Regions from separate parts of the Homo sapiens genome. Here all the other regions are linked to region 3. Evidence: promoter capture Hi-C in 16 types of primary human blood cells and fetal thymus (Javierre and others, 2016). All regions are on one chromosome and are shown on one strand. Each heading gives the region's core, a stretch centred on a gene start or on the middle of the fragment in contact. The rest is flanking DNA. Distances are from core to core; before and after follow the strand shown. Region 1 holds the start of MPV17 (mitochondrial inner membrane protein MPV17). Region 2 overlaps TRIM54 (tripartite motif containing 54). Region 3 holds the start of CGREF1 (cell growth regulator with EF-hand domain 1). Region 4 overlaps GTF3C2 (general transcription factor IIIC subunit 2).

Region 1 (3,087 bases), core at 341-2,840, 200 kb after region 3:
AATCTGAGCCTGGGCAAAGGGCCCAGCGTGTCAGTTCCCATCATAGCCACACTGTCCAGCATGAGTCACCACACACGTAGCCAGGTGAGTCATACAGGCTGACGGACGCTGAGGACAGGACAAGAGGTGGTTGGGCACCGGAGACTGGAGAGGGGCCCAGGGAAGGGCCAAAGAATCCATCTCCTGGCCATTCATGCAGTTAAGTTTCTGTGCCGATGCAGGGCTGTTCTGGTCACAGGATCCCTGTTCCACTCTGGCCTTCAGTAGCCCCCAATCCCTTCCAATAGTCCTCTTCTCAGAAGGCCAGTCATCACTAGAATCCTGTTCCCCTTCTCTAAACATGGGCAAGACCTCATCTTAATGTGATCACTCTTTGCACCCCAATGTTCTAAGGCCTTCTGACATTCCCCCTCTAAGACTTACTTATCTTCATGCCATCCTCTTACATTAGCTAACTTGCAAAATGAAGATGGTAACAAATGCAGGTAGGTCACTGCATTACCTCTGTGAGGTTAGTACTCAATCACTGCATTTGGAGTGACTGGTATCTGATCACTCCAAATGGATCAGGATGGAGTGATCAGATACCAATATACTAACCTTGGAGATACATATTTAGGCAGTAAATGATAACAAAAGCAAATGAACGATATAAACAAAACTCAGGAAATTTTGGGTGAATTACGGAGAGGCACTCAAGAGGTCTCAAAGCTGATTACTGACACAGGAGTGTTCAGTTTTAATGCCATTTAAACTGTACATACACATCTTAATCATTCTTTTGTATGTTTCACAATAAAAAATACCAAGAAAAACTGGGGTAAGAGTCTTGATTCAGCACTTATTAGGTGTGATCTAATGTGGACTCAAGTAACCCTCCTAGCTCACACACCTTTGTGGGGGCCCTATGCCATAACGTATATGAAAGTGCTTTGCATACGGTAAAATGTTTTCCAAGTTGAGGCCTCCTGGGGCAATGCCTTTATCCTTCAGGGCTGACTGTTCAGCTTTTTGAGGACTTTGAAATCCTAAAACCCTACTGCACAGCTTGGCCAACTACGCATACCCCTTAAAAACAGCCTTGGGGACCACCCTCCAAAACAGACTGGGGACAGTGTAGGATGAAAGACAGCCAACCCTTCAAGAGAGCCGAATAGAAACAGGAAGTGAGGGTGGTGCAGTGGGGCAAGCCTCTGGCTTCCAAATCAGTCTGCCCTGGTCCCACTCAAGTCCTAGAGGGACACTCACCAGCTGTCAGGACCTGTACTTTCCACGGGTGAGCGGCCAGGGCCCGCTGGTATGCCCGCCAGAGTGCCATGCTTCCTGTCAAGCCAAGAGGAGAGGGGGTCACCCCCACCGTCCCTCTCCACGACTAAGAAGCCGCCTGACATTCCCTTGTGCCCACTCCCTTCCCCTTCCCACTTCCAATGTGACTTAAAGGGGCAGAGGCCACATGAAGGATGCTTCCCAGACAGCTTCCTGTCGCAGGAGTCGCCTTAGACAATTGGGGAAGAGAGAAAGGCTGTGGGAAGCTATGGACTCCTGGTAGCAGCCACCAGCCACCCCAACCTCATTCCTGAAGCCAGACCACCTGGAAGCCTCCGTTCCCGACGGAGACACTCATGAGGACAGCTTTGCTCTGGCTTCTACCCAGAGCTTGGGTGCCTCAAAAGATAGCTTGGTCCGTCTCCAGATTCAGACTTGGTTGGAACCAGTTTGTAACCTTCCTGAGTCCAGCTCCAAACCGAAAATAGGGCCCGTCACTGCCCGGATATAGGATGACCACACACCTTGTGGGCACTCATGGCTTGCGACGCTTTAAGCCAGAGACCGCAGATCACCCGCCACTCACCTGAGCGCCGAGCCTCCCTCCCACGTGACAGGCTGGCCTAGGAACTTCCGCCACAAGTCCCGCCCCTTCCTCCCAGCGTCCTTCGGATTACGCAGCCAGGACAGGAATGGGGGTGGACCGAGCCATGAATACCCGTGGAGAGCGGCCTAACTCGGCCACCCACTCTGTGAGAGACCCCTTTTCCAGCTGGACTGTGCCGGACCCTGGTGTGGGGCCCGCCAGCCATATTTCTCACCTAAGTTCGACCCTCTGCCTCCTCCTGCCCCTTCTCTCCGCGCGAGACCCGGGCCTCTCTCAATCCGGTAGTCTCATTGTTCAGCCCACCCTCCCCGCATAACTGGCCATAACTACGATCCTTGTCTCAGCAATCGTAGTTAGGGAACTATAAGTTATAGTTAAGTGCGTGTTTTGTCTCTAGGTTCTTCACTGGCCTCAACTGTGAGCTCATGAGTGGGTAAAACTGGGGTCGTTCATATTTGTCGTCCTCATAGCAACTATTTCAGTGCTTTGCCGCAAACAGCCACTTAAGAAATACTGCGTATGTATGATTCTTCCACAGAAAGCATTGGAATTAGAACCTCAGAAGACATTAGGTATTGGCTCCCAAACTAACGGGCTGTGCAGCCTTGGTCATGACTAGACTTGATGTTAAGGCTCTGCATCTGTAAAATGAGGGAGGTTACACTATTGACTTTCCAAACTCGGCTCCTCAGTTCTAGGGATTTTTCAGATGTTTGTGTGTGGGGATGAGAGGGGCAGCATTACTACAGCTGCTTCTCCAACTTTTTTTTCCAAGTATATACTTCTCAAAAGACCCATTTTTAACGGGGCCCACAACTGCATGTTTGAAAACCAGTAAGCTAGGTGATTTCTTAATCCCCTTCCAGCTCTAACATTCTAAGAGTCTGTGAATATAGAGCAATATCCTTTCTAGAGCGTTGGAAATGTCTACAATATCCCTGGCAATGGACTTGTCAGGCTGGCAGGCTTTACTTATCTCCAGGGAGCCCACACGTCAGGAGGCACACTCTTTCAGGCTCTCCACCTGCCCAGCTCCACCCCCAATTTACTCAATTCCTTTATGATTAAGGCAGGGAGACTCCTGCCACAAATCCTGGAGAAACAGAGTAAGGAAGCAAGAGAAGTCAATGTCACAAACATTTAACTAAAATGCTATTTGCAAAACAGCATGCTAGAGGAGTGAACTGACAAAAGTAAATGTAATAGGAGACCAA
Region 2 (3,040 bases), core at 347-2,846, 170 kb after region 3:
GATACATCTATGATATTAATATTTAATGAGGGGGATGGGAGCTATTGGGGGAAATGTCTAAAAAGGATCCTGAGCAGTGGCACACACCTGCAGTCTCAGGTACTCAGGAGGCTGAAGCAGGAGGATCGCTTGAGCCTAGGAGTTTGAGGCCAGCCTGAGCAACATAGTGAGACACTATCTCTCTCTTTCTCTTTTTTTTTTTTTTTTTTTTTTTTTTTTTGAGACAGAGTCTCGCTCAGTAGCCCAGGCTGGAGTGCGGTGGCTTGATTTCGGCTCACTGCAACCTCCACCTCCCAGGTTCAAGTGATTCTCATGCCTCAGCTTCCCGAGTAGCTGGGATTACAGGTGCAAGCTACCATGCCTGGCTAATTTTTGTATTTTTAGTAGAGACAGGGTCTCATCATGTTGGCCAGGCTGGTCTCAAACTCCTGACCTCAAGTGATCCACCCACCTCGGCCTTCCAAAGTTCTAGAATTACAGGTGTGAGCCACCGTGCTATCTTTTTAAGAGACACTATCTCTTAAAAAAAATTTTTTTAATTAAAAAGTCTCCCAGAGGGGACAATAATGAAGAAAGCTTTGGAAACACTGGAATATAATCACCAAAATATTTAAAGCACATTTGATGGAGTAATACATGTGCTTCTTAACTAACACATTAAAGAATGAGGTCTAGCAGTGAGTCTGAACTGCTGTAATTTAGAAGTAGTGATAAGCAGCCGGGCCCAGTGGCTCATGCCTGTAATCCCAGCACTATGGGAGGGAGAGGCGGGCAGATCACGAGGTCAGGAGATGGAGACCATCCTGGCTAACACGGTGAAACCCCGTCTCTACTAAAAATCAAAAAATTAGCCGGGCATGGTGGCGGGCGCCTAGCTGAGGCAAGAGAATCGCTTGAACCCAGGAGGTAGAAGTTGCAGTGAGCCGAGATTGTGCCACTGCATCCTAGCCTGGGTGACAGAGCAAGACTCCATCTAAAAATAAATAAATAAATAAAGAAGTAATGATAAGCATACATTATTTTTTGAAATTTTAGCAACAACTGTAATGCGATATGAAAACAGCTGTGATTTCCGTTGGTGACAAAGTCACGGGCTGCTAAAACTGCTGTGGTTTTGTGCTGCTTCCCCTATATTGTGCTCCATTAAATGCTTCTGTTAAAAACCAGAGATGTTACCTATAAGGGGCAACAATTTGACCCATATAGCCAGTATAGAAGACTTTCTCAAAGTAGCCACTCAACATTTGCAAAAGGTTTGGAACACAAGTCAGACAAATTTTGGTAGAGAAAGTCAGGAAATGGTTAGCAAATTTCATTCTTATTTCACCTTCCTGATTTTTGCCATAGCTGTGTACTACCTGTACTATAATTTAATAGTTCTATTTTAAAACACTCACTTTTAGGCTAGGTGCACTGGCTCACACCTATAATCCCAGAACTTTGGGAGGCCAAGGTAGGCAGATCACTTGAGTTCAGGAGTTTGAGAGCAGCCTGGCCAACATGGTGAAACCCTGTCTCTACTAAAATATAAAGAAATTAGCTGGGCATGGTGGTGAACGCCTATAGTCCCAGCTACTCAGGAGGCTGAGGCTGGAGAATCACTTGAGCCCGGGAAGCAGAGGTTGCAGTGAGCCGAGATCGTGCCACTGCATTCTAGCCTGGGCTACAGGAGTGAAACCCTGTCGCAAAACAAAAACAAACAAACAAAAAATGACTTTTAAACCTTAAATATTTACTTTATCCTTATTCTATACAATGTAATCCATGAAAAATTGTCAGTTTTTTGTGGACTGTTTTTTTCCTAATATGCATTAGAATTAACACATAAAAAATCTTGAACATCCATCCCCATACCACCTCCAATCTTCATGCTTGTCATCAGTATTATACCATATTTTGGGAAACACAATGAGGGCGTCTAAGCAATATGAGCCAGAGGCCCTGGAAAGTCTGAAGGATAAATTTTACTATTTTATTACAAGTCAAATGTAGTCTTAATGCCAAAAAGCACATGTATGTAAATATTGGCCAGAAAGACTAGCAAAGGAAGTGGGGTTAGGATTTGGCTGGGGGCTAGCATTGCTGAAGCAATCACAGAAGGGAAGGGCTGCCCTGGAGATTAAGATGAAAGCCAGCCAGGCCCGACGGAGATATGGCAGGAGAAATTGGACTTGTGAATCAGGAGGGGACTCTGGGACTGGGGGATGAAAGCTACACGCAAAATACGGGACTGTGGTGTCAGCAGCAGGGAGCAGCACCAGCCCTGAGCAAGACGGTGGGAAAGCAGAGGTGCAGCCTCTCCCCACCGCCCTGCACCCTGAGCTCACACACTCCCGATTTCTCTCTCCCAAGACAGGAACTTTTCAAAGGACTTGGGTTGGACTGCCTGAGTACTGATGCCTCTTAGCCTTCTGGGCTCCAGAATAAATGCAATGACTAACCAATGCGATGAGCTGCTAAAGAAATTGCTTTGGCAGGTGGGAGGGTGTTGAAGAGGTGGTGTTAGTGTGCCTCCCTCAGGTCAAGTCCTGAAGTCAGTTCTGGCTGTGGGGAGTTTGAAGGAAGACATTGGCCAAGATAGCCCAAGTCCTGATTACTTTTTTCTTTCTAAAAATTGTAAGCTTGGCATGGGGTCTCACCCCTGAAATTCCAGCACTTTGGGAGGCTGAGGTAGGAGGATCGCTTGAGGCCAGGAGTTTGACATCAGCCTGGGCAACTAGCAAGACCCTATCTCTGCAGAAACTTTTTTTAAAAATTAGCTGGGCATGGTGGCACACCTGCAGTCCCAGCCACTTGGGAGGCTGAGGTGAGAGGATCCCTCGATCCCAGGAAGTTGAGACGACAGAGAGAGAGATCTTGTCTCAAAAAATTTTTTTTAATTTTTGTAAAATGCACATAACATGAAATGTACCACCTTAACCTTTTAAATGTACAGTTCAATGGCATTACATACATTTACATTGTTGTGAAACTGTCACCACTATCCATCCCCAGAACTTTATCACCACCCCAAACTGAAACCCCACACCCCTTAAACAAT
Region 3 (2,758 bases), core at 168-2,667:
TTTTTTTTTTTTTTTTGAGGCGGAGTCTCGCTCTGTCGCCCAGGCTGGAGTGCAATGGCACGATCTCGGCTCACAGCAAGCTCCGCCTCCCGGGTTCACGCCATTCTCCATTCTCCTGCCTCAGCCTCCCGAGTATCTGGGACTACAGGCGCCTGCCACCACGCCTGGCTAAATTTTTTTTGTATTTTTAGCAGAGACGGGGTTTCACCGTGTTAACCAGGATGGTATCGATTTCCTGACTTCGTGTTCCGCCCGTCTCGGCCTCCCAAAGTGCTGGGATTACAGGCGTGAGCCACTGCTCCTGGTCGGGATCTGCATTTTAAAAATGAGGATAACGGTATCTGTCTCCTAAAGGTTTGGGGAGGCTGCAATGAGAAAACTTAGGGTAGGTGCCTGGCACCAAGCAGGTGCTGCTTGGGTATTTCAGAGCCTCTGGGCTGTGGCAGGGGCCTTGCAGGGTTATCCTGGGTAACTTCCCATCCAAAGCAAAAATTTCTTCCTCAGCAACCCTGTCAAATGGCCTCTGCTTGAATCATTCCAGGACAGGAACCTAGCACCTCACAGGCCGGCAGTTCCATCTCCTGTAGAGTCGAACTGTTGGGAAGCTAAAATTTTGAGTAGAATCCTCTCCCTTAATTCTTAATTTATCCCTCTGGTGCCCTTGTGCCTCCCAGCACCCATCCCCCAAGAAAGGAGACAGCGGCTACAGGGCTAGAGGAGCCCACACCCGGGAGCTGGTCCCTCGGCCACCTGCAAGCGGACGACAGCCTCGGGCCCTCCCCAGCGCTCCATTTCTTCCCCGTCGGATGAGGGGGAAAGCTCCCGCCAGCTGCCCCTCCCCCAGGACTGCTGGAACACGGAATGCGGGGCTGGGGGAAGCGCCTGGGGAACTGCGAAGCCCCAAATTCACACCAAGGAGCCTCAGGCTCGCTCTCCAGTCCCTTCCTCCACCTGCCCTCAGGGTACACAGGGGCAAGGGCCACTGCTCCCGCCGCGTCTGAGCCGCAGGGGATGCAGAGGGACTGCGCTCTCGGGATCTGGACCAGAGGCTGGAGGCCACCTACCCCGCGCGGCCCTGGCTGGCTGACGGCGATGGGCTCGGGTCTCCGGCCGGCCGGGGCGGGGTGTCACCCACCTGCTGCGGCGCCGCGCGGCTCTGGGGGTCCAGCTCCGTGGGCGCTCCTGGCTGCTGCGCCGCCCGCGCCTCGCCTCCCGCCGCCAGCCTCCCCCGGGCCGCTCCACGTGGCCGCTCCACGTCGCCCTCCCGGCTGGAGCCGCCGCCCTGGCCGGGCAGAGTCCGGAGCCAGTGCCAGCCGCCGCCCCGCCCGCCGGACCTGGCCCTTCGCAGCTCCACCAGCGCCCCCGCTGCGCCCGCGGCCGGAGGGGCTGCGCGCGCCCGTGTGAGTGTGCGCGTGTGTGCGTGCGTGAGTGCGCATGTGCGCGTGTGCGAGTCCGCGTGTGCTCGTGAGTGCGCTCGTGTGCTTGTGCGGGTGTGCACATGCGTGTGACATTGTGAGCGTGAGTGTGAGCATGTGTAAGGATGCACGTGTGTGAGCGTGCATGTGTGCGCGGATGTGTGCGTGTGCCTGTATGCACACATGTGAGTACAGAGAGACCAAGAGACAGTGAGGCCAGTGTGCATCAGAAGTATGTTTAACTGTGCTCATGCTTTGGTTGCCACTTTCTCTGCCTGAGGGACCCAGATGTATGTGACAAAATGGAACCTAACTTACTGTTAGCATGTGCGGTTGTGACTGGCATGTGTGGCTCTGTGTATGAGGAATTTGTGACACGGTAGGGGGTATTTTGTGTGACTGTGCATCCGTGTGATAGTGTGGGCTTCAGGGGCCGGGCGTGGTGGCTCACACCTGTAATCCCACCACTTTGGGAGGCCAAGGCGGGTGGATCACGAGGTCAGGAGATGGAGACCATCCTGGTTAACACAGTGAAACCCCGTCTCTACTGAAAATACAAAAACATTAGCCGGGCATGGTGACGGGCGCCTGTAGTGTCAGCTACTCGGGAGGCTGAGGCAGGAGGATGGCATGAACCTGGGTGGTGGAGCTTGCAGTGAGCCGAGATCACGCCACTGCACTCCAGCCTGGGTGACAAAGCAAGACTGAGACTCCGTCTCAATAAATAAATAAATAAATAAAAAATAAATGATAGTGTGGGCTTCAGGGTATGGCCAATGTGTGACTGACTGCCCAGGGGTGTGGCGGTGCAGAGTGTTAGAGGCATATGTATTGGGGTGTCAGGGTGAACTCTTCCTGAGTTGTTTGTGACACTCCATCACAGCGACACTGTCATCACAGCGACAAGCCCACTCTCATCCTGTCCTCCTCCCAGTGATGAACACTGCTTGTCACTGCCTTTTTAGATCACGGATTCTGCTGGTTTCGGCAATACCTCTCCTACCTCTGGTCATTTCAAAAAGGTCTCCATTTTCTTCACCGTCAGAGTTCCTCAGGGCCCTCTCCTCACTTTCCATCTGCTCATGTGCTCATCTGCTCACCTAGCTCCCATCACTGTTATGCATTGACTCGTGTCCTTCACAAAGTTATATGTTGAAGTCTTAACCTCCAATACCTCAGACTGTGACCTTATTTGGAAATAGGGTCATTGCAGATGTAATCCATTAAGATGAGGTCATACTGGAGTAGGGTGGGCCCCTAATCAATATGACTGGTGTTCATATCAAAAGAGGAAATGTGGACACAGACACACACATAGGAAGAACATTGCTATGGCCTGAATA
Region 4 (2,743 bases), core at 189-2,688, 220 kb after region 3:
TTCAGCCAGTTCCTGAAGATACAGAAGTGCCCTGTGGGAACGGACAGAGTCAGAGCCATTCTCACATATGACTGAGAACCCACGTTTCCAGACATGGTTGATTTTTATCTCAATGGAGCCTCCCAATAACCCCATGATTAACCAATTAACTCTATTAATTTCCCCTTCCCCCTTGGAAGATGAAAAACCAGAAATCTAAGTTATGTGACTTGGCCGAGATGACTGAGATAACAAATGTGGAATCTGAACCCAGGTCTTCTCACTCCAAGTTCAATACATTTTTCATCCTACCACAGTCAAAGAACACAGAGGGCAAGAGAAAGAATGGAACAGAATATATATACTGACATATACTGGACAGTAAAACAATAAAGAGCTGGGTAAAGTTTGTGAAAAATGGCATAGGACATAAAGTACAGACAATAATTCTTAGATAAACCAAGTTAGCAATACATACCATTAATAGTGCTGCGGTAAGAGCCTAAAGGACTGCTCAAGTCCCTAGAATCCAGACACCACCCCTGCTTACCTAATACCTCATCAGTCTTCTCTCTCCAACATCTGCCCCACCCTGATCCCTTCACCCAACCCCCCTCCACCAAGCTATGCCCCACAATCCTTACACTTGGGCAGCCCTTCGGCGGGGTCGTTCCCCAGAAGGGGTCTCAAAGTCCTCAGGGGGCCTCTTTGGAGATTGAGATTCTGGCCGATCTAGGTCTTTTGACAACTTCAGCAGCAGCAGCTCTGCCTTGGACTTTCGACCTCGTTTCTTAGGCATGGGGGTGGACAGAGGGTTGGATTGATCTAAGAGACCAGGAACCAGTGGGGCTGATGGAGGATTAGGCTGTTGGGGCCTTTTGGGGCCTTTTCGTGTCCTACCACCTCTCTTCCGGCCAGGCTTTGAGGCCCTAGGCTTTGAGACCTTTGACATCTCTGAAGAAAGATCTGTGGAGAAGAATATGGGTCTGTGAGATGGGACCAGAACTCAAACCTCTATGGAAAAGATTACACTGTACCCAGGTTTGTAAGATCCTATGAGCTCAATCTGCTCTTTCATCTTAAGCTTGGCATGGGGAATAAAAAGATAAGAGGACAAGGTACATACCTGGCTGTTCCAGTCTGGAGAGGCTTTCCTGCTCTGGAGGGAGCCTCCTCTGATCAGGAGAATCCTCAAATCCAGGCAAAGGGGTAGGTAATGACATCTCTACGGAAGCCTCTGCACTGGTCATTTCTGAAGAGGTCTTGACATCAAGCTGATTTAGCACCTCTTGTCCAGGAGAGTCTACCACAGTCATGTTCCCCACGGGGCCGGCCTCCCCCAGGGCAACATAGCCGACCCCGCAGGTATCCATCAGCACCCCCCAAAATGGCTGCCCCTGCATACAGAGACACACAAATGAGTAGAGGACAAAAACTATTTGTACTAGCTCAGATTTTTATTTCCCCATCTTTTCTCCCTCATTCTCACACTCATAACCAAGTTCCCTGATTATTCACTTATTCAACAATATTTACTAAGCACCTTCTATATGTCAGGACTGTTCTGGAAACTGGTAATATGAGCCAGGTGCGGTGGCTCACACCTGTAATCCCAGCACTTAGGGAGGCTGAGGCAGGAAGGCAGCTTGAGCTTAGGAGTTTGAGGCTAGCCTGGGCAACACAGCAAGACCCCTTCTCTAGCAAAATAAAATAAAATAAAAAAATTAAAAACAAAAAAGGAAACTGGTGATATGACAATAAACAAGACAGACAAGGTCCCTGCCCTCATGGAACTTACATTTTGGTGAAGCAGACAATAAACAAGTAAACAAATAAAGCTTCCATTTTTTTTTTTTTTTAAAGACGGAGTTTCACTCTCGTTGCCCAGGCTGGAGTGTAATGGGGCAATCTCAGCTCACTACAACCTCCACCTCCTGGGTTCAAGCAATTCTCCTGCCTCAGCCTCCTGAGTAGCTGGGATCAAGGTGCGCACCACCACGCCCAGCTAATTTTTGTATTTTTAATAGAGATGAGGTTTCACCATGTGGGCCAGGCTGGTCTCAAACTCCTGACTTCAGGTGATCCACCCGCCTCAACCTCCCAAAGTGCTGGGATTACAGATAATGAGTCACTGCGCCTGGCCATAAAGCTTCCATTTATTAAATGCTAACTATGTGCCAAGCACTATACTAAGTGCTATACATACATTATCTAATTTAAAGCTCATATATTTTCTTGTAAGGATGAAGCAGTGAATGCACAATTATTTAACCTCTGTCTCTGAAACCCAATGAAATAAAACACACACACACAGACATACACACACTCCAAAAAAGAAGAGAGAGAAAAATTTGTCTAGCATGAATCTAGGAAAGGGACACCAACTTCCTCAAAATATACTACAAAAAAGAGCTGCCAGATACTACAAAATTTAGACCAAAGTGAAGAGGCATACTTAATGTTAACATCTCTTTCTGTAAAGATTAGTCAAGGAATAAGTTTATTTAAGAATAAGTAAAAGGCCAGGCAGGATGGCTCATGCCTGTAATTCCAACACTTTGAGAGGCCAAGGAAGAAGGACTGCTTGAGGCCAGGAGTTCAAGACCAGTCTGGGCAACATAGGGAGACCTCATCTCTACAAAAAATTTTAAAAGTTAGCCGGGCATGGTGGTGCGCACCTGTAGTCCCAGCTACTTGGAAGGCTGAGACAGGAGGATTGCTTGAGCCTAGGAGTTCGAGGTTACAGTGAGCTATGATGGTGTTA

What was found. Contacts are between HindIII fragments. The CHiCAGO score rates a contact against its expected background, and 5 or more counts as called.
Region 1: a fragment that was not itself captured here is called in contact with the fragment with the promoter of CGREF1 in region 3 in 1 of 17 cell types (endothelial precursors); the score reaches 5.9 in endothelial precursors.
Region 2: a contact is called between a fragment that was not itself captured here and the fragment with the promoter of CGREF1 in region 3, in 10 of 17 cell types (naive B cells, megakaryocytes, total B cells and 7 more). The highest score is 8.2, in naive B cells.
Region 4: a contact is called between a fragment that was not itself captured here and the fragment with the promoter of CGREF1 in region 3, in 4 of 17 cell types (naive B cells, M1 macrophages, endothelial precursors and 1 more). The highest score is 6.5, in naive B cells.

What each region holds. Positions count from the first base shown.
Region 1 is chr2:27,321,200-27,324,286 of GRCh38, forward strand. MPV17 (mitochondrial inner membrane protein MPV17) reads right to left here and starts at 1,898. Exons shown (of 8, transcript NM_002437.5): 1 at 1,853-1,898; 2 at 1,249-1,323. The coding sequence starts at 1,318. RefSeq lists enhancers at 1,293-1,342, 1,353-1,442, 1,453-1,502, 1,553-1,612, 1,735-2,707 and 2 more. The HindIII fragment of the contact is 4,230 bases long and covers 1-3,087 here.
Region 2 is chr2:27,289,670-27,292,709 of GRCh38, forward strand. All of the region lies in intron 1 of TRIM54 (tripartite motif containing 54), which reads left to right. Among named protein-coding and RNA genes, the nearest start is that of TRIM54, 8.8 kb to the left of the region's middle. The HindIII fragment of the contact is 2,045 bases long and covers 575-2,619 here.
Region 3 is chr2:27,117,711-27,120,468 of GRCh38, forward strand. It overlaps CGREF1 (cell growth regulator with EF-hand domain 1), which reads right to left and starts at 1,418. Exons shown (of 6, transcript NM_006569.6): 1 at 1,136-1,418. RefSeq lists enhancers at 350-850, 851-1,351. The HindIII fragment of the contact is 4,689 bases long and covers 1-2,758 here.
Region 4 is chr2:27,342,203-27,344,945 of GRCh38, forward strand. It overlaps GTF3C2 (general transcription factor IIIC subunit 2), which reads right to left. Exons shown (of 19, transcript NM_001035521.3): 2 at 1,106-1,376; 3 at 624-945; 4 at 1-31. The coding sequence starts at 1,352. Among named protein-coding and RNA genes, the nearest start is that of GTF3C2-AS1, 8.0 kb to the left of the region's middle. The HindIII fragment of the contact is 754 bases long and covers 1,062-1,815 here.